Regions from separate parts of the Homo sapiens genome. Here region 2 is linked to region 1. Evidence: promoter capture Hi-C in human tissues and cell types (Jung and others, 2019). All regions are on one chromosome and are shown on one strand. The core of a region is centred on a gene start or on the middle of the fragment in contact, and the rest is flanking DNA. Distances in the headings are between cores, read along the strand shown. Region 1 holds the start of CYB5R3 (cytochrome b5 reductase 3). Region 2 overlaps PACSIN2 (protein kinase C and casein kinase substrate in neurons 2).

Region 1 (2,900 bases), core at 194-2,693:
GGAACACCACCAAAAACAGCAGGGAAGGGTTGGGTGGAGACCAGGGGAAGCTTTAGAGACACAGGCAGGACATTTCAACAATAAAGGAGGCAGATGCTTTCTGGGGAAAAATGGGCCGGGTGTTGCATGGAGGTTGGGGTGATGCCCACAGGTTCACCCTGGCCAAGGTTGCCTGGGGTCTGAACATCCCGAAGTTCTGGGTTGGGCCACACTTTCCTTAGCAACCACCCAAGCCAAGAGGCCTTTTGCCTGGATCCCCAAGGAGGAGACTCCAGGTCCTCCCCAAGGAGGGAGGACCCAGGTGCCCTCCAAGTGGCAGATGCCAGGCATAGAGGTAGAGGTGGAGGTGGAGGAGCACTGGGCTGATTCCTCCTGTGCCAGCCTCCCCACGCCTAGCGGGTCACAGTTGACAGGAGAGCTGCCCTCTGCAGCCGCAGCCTCCACATGTCCACACAGACTCAAGCCTCCAGCCTCACCATGGTCAACTTTTGAGAAACTGGGGAGAGGAGGTGGCCTGGGGGGAAGGGAAGGTGGCTCTAGGCCAGCCCAGGAGTGACAGCAGCAGAGTGGACTTTGAAACCCCATGGAGCAGGCTCCTTCCGGCGGCAGCGTTGTGGGACGGTGGCCAAGACTAGTTTGCATTTCCCCATCTGTGAAATGGGGCAAACAGCACTGACACCGCAAAGTGTGAGGTCCCCAGCACAGCTTGCAGGGTCAGTGGGAGCCTGGCCTTGATGGGAGCCTGGCCCACTGAGCATTGGGAGGATGCCCCCGTGTCATCCGGGTTCTGTTCCTTGTTGCTAAACGTGCAAAACCCTCTGACATAGTGACATCGCACACACACACACGTTCAGTCGCAGTCAGTGACATCGCCCATTCACATACTCCCGTACACACACACACACCCCATCACACGTTTCCATGCCCGCCCTTCACACCCACGGTCACACTCACACACACATTCACTCTCAAGCCATTCACACGCTCGCTCACACACTCACACTCAGCGGCACACACGCTCACAACCACGGGTCCCTCCAGCAGCCAAGGCCCCACGGCGGCCAGGGCAGGGCCCAGGTGCCCCCGGGTGCTGGGCTCTGGCGCGCCCCCCGGGCAGGAGGGCTGGGTCCCCGCTGCAGACTGCCAGGGCGTAAGTAGCGGTCACCACGTAGCTCGCCCAGGCCCTTGTGGGGTGGGGTGGGGCGCGGCGGGCTGGGCGGGCGAAGTGGGTGCGGCCGGGTGCGGCCCGGGTCCCGCGTCACCTCCCGCAGGCCAGCCCGCCCCCTCGCCGCCGGGTCCCAGTCCCTCGCGACGCCCCGCGGCCCCGGCGCCCCCTCCCCGCCTACCGTGCTGAGCTGGGCCCCCATGGTGGCCCCGCGCCGCGCTCGCTCTGTCGCCGCCGCCGCCGCCGCCGAGACCGTCGCGCCCGGGCCCGCGTCACTCCGGAGCAGGGGCGGGGCCGAGGGGCCAGGCGGGCGCGCGGGGCGGGGCGGGCGCGGGGGCGGGGACCGGGTCGCTCCGCCTGCTTCTGCCGGGGATGGAGACTGGGAACTGGGGATGCGGCCCTCTGCGCTCCGAGCTCTCCCGCCGCTGTGCTGCCCCGCGCGGGACGGTGGCCTCTCTGGGCCTCGTTCGCCGCCATAAAGGAAGCAAGATGGCGCCCCCCGGATGGGAGCGAGAATAAGAGGCGGAATCTTCCCCCGGCCTCCGAGACTGCAGGGGCCGGTCCTGCCTGGCCTGGCCTGGGCCTGTGCCTGCAGCTGCTCAGCGCGGCCCTTCCCCGGGCCTTTGAATTTGTAGTTCCCTGGGCAGCACTGTTCCCAGCTGCCTCGGGCCGGGTTAAATGCTGCGGTCTCAGCACGGCCCGCCCGGAGCCTCCTCGCCGGCGGCGCCTCCGCTCCCCACGCCATTGTCCCACTGTGGAGTGATCTTTGTCCCACTTAGCTGAAGGCCTCCTGCGTGTTTCCCCCACTCCCACCCCATCCCAGTGGACTGTGCGCTCCCGGAGGGCAAGGCCCTATCTGGTTTGAAGTCCCGTACATCCCCAGAGCCTAGCCACACAGAGCCTAGCATATAGTAGGTGCTCAATAAATACCTTTTTTTTTTTTTTTTTTTTTGGTAAAGCAGGGTCTCACTCTTGCCCAGACTGGAATGCAGGAGCCTGATCACAGCTCACTTTAGCCTCAACCTCCCAGGCTCAAGTGTTCCTCCTGCCTCAACCTCCTGAGTAGCTGGGCACATGCCACCACGTCCGGCTAATTGTTTTTTTTTTTGAGACGCAGTTTCGCTCTTGTTGCCCAGGCTGGTATGCATTGACGCGATCTCGGCTCACCGCAAACTCCGCCTCCAGGGTTCAACAGATCCTCCTGCCTCAGCCTCCCGAAATTACAGGCATGTGCCACCACATCTGGCTAACCAGCTAATCTTTTTTTTTTTTTTTTTTTTTTTTTTTTTGAGACAGAGTCTCGCCCTGTCCCCCAGGCTGGAATGCAGTGGCGCCATTTCGGCTCAATGCAAGCTCCGCCTCCAGGGTTCACGCCATTCTCAGCCTCCCGAGTAGCTGGCACTACAGGCACCCCACCGCGCCCGGCTAATTTTTTGTATTTTCAGTAGGGACGGGGTTTCACCGTGTTAGCGAGGATGGTCTCGATCTCCTGACCTCGTGATCCGCCCGCCTCGGCCTCCCAAAGTGCTGGGATTACAGGCGTGAGCCACCGCGCCCGGCCTAATTTTGTATTTTTAGTAGAGACGGTGTTTCAACATGTTGGTGAGGCTGGTCTCGAACTTCCGACCTCAGGTGATCCACCTGCCTCGGCTTCCCAAAGTGCCGGGATTACAGGTGGGAACTACCGCGCCCGGCCATTTTTGCATTTTTTTGTAGAGACGGGTTTCACTATGTT
Region 2 (2,780 bases), core at 4-2,503, 240 kb after region 1:
TCTGAAGTGAGCAGATGCTTCTCCCAGGTGTTGGGCACCCACCCACACCATGCCAACGCTTCTCCTGGCATGGCTCCTATCAGCCCTGCTTGGCCCCTGGCTAGCCCTGCACTGCCTTCCTCTGCAGGACTGTGTTCATTCACTCCCAGAAAGAGCCTGGCTCTGAGCACAAGCTTGAGAACACTGTGGAATGAGGACTGTCCCCTCAGCAGAATGGAAGCCCATCCTGCAGGAGGAAGGAGAGGAGGAAGCAGGAGCCTGCTCTGGACCAGTATGGCAGGAGGGGCTGAGTCGCCTCTCCCTACTCACTGTTCTCAGTCCCCGAGGCTCAGGAAGGAAGCCCTAATCCAGGCTGGCATTTCTATTCAGGGGGTAGGGTGGGGTGGCGTGAGGCTGGAGGGAGGGAGAGCCACAACGGAGCCGGGGCAGAAATCGAGAAGATCCATGGCTGGTCTTCAAGGTGGTCACAGGGACAGTGACCAAGTGCGCTGAGTCATGACAGAGGTGGGCTGAGGGGAGGGCAGGCTGTGAGAACCCAGAGGGGGACACGTGACTCTGGGGCTTGGAGACAACAGAGAACAGCCCCGGAAGTTGGACCTCTCTGTGCCTTCGTGTCTACAAAATGAGCACATTCCTGTCCTGTCCACAACGTTACAGCCAGACCCACAAGGTGAGGGTGGTAAGGGTGCTCTGTAAACCTCAAGCTCTGACTGACAGCTTGATCCTGGGAGAGGGGCTGCAGCAGGTGGAAACGAAATGACGACACTGCCACCGACCAAGGGAGCTGACCTATCCTAGGCCCCTCCTCTGCCACGTGCCTGCTCCACAGCCTGGGCACATACCCTGCCCTAAGGACTGTGCTAAGCCCACACAAACAACCCATGTCAGCATCACGGGAAAGGACAGGCAGCTGGACTAGACCTGGCTTGCTTGGGACCTGGCTCCCCTGATTGGCTGAGGACAGCTGGGGCTGAGGACAGCTGGTCAGCACAGGAAAGCCTGCCCCAAAACACACCTTGAGAAACCCACACTGCTCTGCTTCTGTGCCGGAAAGGCTGTAATCAGTCAAGTTCCCCTTCCCTGCTGGGAAGTGTGTTCTAAGCATGGCCCCTGTCCACACAACAGTGGCACTAATAAAGCTACAGAATCTTCTGAGCTTTTCGGTGGGGACAGAAGGGGGTGAAACCTCTGCCATACAACACCTGTAATTATTCCCTTAAAATGTAAACTCAGAAAGACTGCCAGGTGTTGCCAGCTAGTCTTATCTGACCTGCTACATGGCCAAGTTTAAAAATAAACAGCTCTCAGTGTTAGAAACTAAGGTGCCAAGCGGCAAGGCCTTCCACGTGATAGGAACTTACCCGAGTTCTGAGTTAACTCGGCAAGTGCAAGTGTGTCCTATGGATGACAAGGGCTATAGTCCTGTGTCCCCAAGGAAAGTGGACAAAAGCTCATGGAGCCTGTGCCTTCTGGTGATGGGCGCTAATGCTCCCCATAAAAATCACACCCCGCTCTGGAACTGGGAAATGCACTCTTGCCCCAATCTTAAAAGACAGAAAACTGGCATAGAGAGGGTCACAACGTGCCCAGAGCCCCCGGCTGGGGTGTAGCTGCCTCCAGGCCACAGGACCTGTGCCGGGGCCCCATACCTTTCTCCACGAGCTGCCTCCAGCGCCGGGCCCACTCAGTGAGCTGCTGCGCATACGCCTTCTCGATGCGCGCCCGCTCATGCAGGCAGTTCATGAGGTCGCTGCACAGGCGGTGGCCATCGTCGATCCGCTTCACAGTCCGCTTGTAGTTCCCGACCTAGGAGAGAGAACCAGCTGGGAGGCAGGGGGCTTGGGGCAGCCTGTCCTTGGCTGTGGCACAAATGGCCTCCATGCCAACCAGGCCCTGATGCGCCCCTGGGGTCATGTTTACCACACCCCTCTCCAAGAGTTTGAAAGGCACTCCGTGTAGTTAGATAATGAGCCTCTCTATTTTTATTATTAATAAGATCATACACATCAGTGAACGGGGGCTTCTCAATGTTCTTTAGGTTGGGTACCAAGTAGAAACTGGGCTGTGGGTCAGGAAGGGAGGCTGACTGGCTCAGGAAGGGGTGGGGCTGAGGATGCCTAAACGGGCACCTCACGCAGACTGAGGGGCTGGGGCTGGCTTCCTGGAGTAGGTGACATCTAACCAAAGCCTTCTGCTTTGATGTCATCCATCATGTGCTGGGTTATTACTTCCCAATCATAGCTGTAAAAACTTTTCCACTTCCTGAGCACCTACCATGTGCCAGGCGACCTGCTAGGTGTTTTACACCTCCAAATACTGTCTCCCCTACCTAGTAGGAATAAGTGTCCCCATTTTACAGATGAGGAAACAAAGGCTTAGAGAAGTTACGTGGTTTGTCAAGATCCTGCAGCCACAGTGGCTAGGCTGGAGCTGAAGGCAATTGTTTTTTTTTTTGAGACACAGTCTCGCTGTCGTCAGGCTGGAGTGCAGTGGCACGATCTCGGCTCACTGCAACCTCCGCATCCCAGGTTCAAGTGATTCTTCTGCCTCAGCCTCCTCAGTAGCTGGGACTACAGGCACGCATGCCATCACACCCAGCTAGTTTTTGTATTTTTAGTGGAGACAGGGTTTCACCATGTTGGCCAGGATGGTCTCAATCTCCTGACCTTGTGATCCACCCACATCAGCCTCCCAAAGTGCTGGGATTACAGGCGTGAGGCACCGCGCCCAGCCCAAAGGCAGTTTTTCAAAGGGTTCCAAGTAGGACTGTCTTGATGGCA

The links. Contacts are between HindIII fragments. The study calls those that stand out against the background at their distance.
Region 2: a contact is called between a fragment that was not itself captured here and the fragment with the promoter of CYB5R3 in region 1, in 1 of the 25 tissues and cell types used here (IMR-90 fibroblasts).

What each region holds. Positions count from the first base shown.
Region 1 is chr22:42,647,949-42,650,848 of GRCh38, forward strand. CYB5R3 (cytochrome b5 reductase 3) reads right to left here and starts at 1,444. Exons shown (of 9, transcript NM_000398.7): 1 at 1,347-1,444. The coding sequence starts at 1,367. RefSeq lists silencers at 955-1,304, 1,325-1,514, 1,825-1,924 and an enhancer at 1,619-2,432. The HindIII fragment of the contact is 6,582 bases long and covers 1-2,661 here.
Region 2 is chr22:42,891,808-42,894,587 of GRCh38, forward strand. PACSIN2 (protein kinase C and casein kinase substrate in neurons 2) reads right to left here. Exons shown (of 11, transcript NM_001184970.3): 3 at 1,650-1,806. Among named protein-coding and RNA genes, the nearest start is that of ARFGAP3, 36 kb to the left of the region's middle. RefSeq lists an enhancer at 1,216-1,315. The HindIII fragment of the contact is 5,092 bases long and covers 1-2,780 here.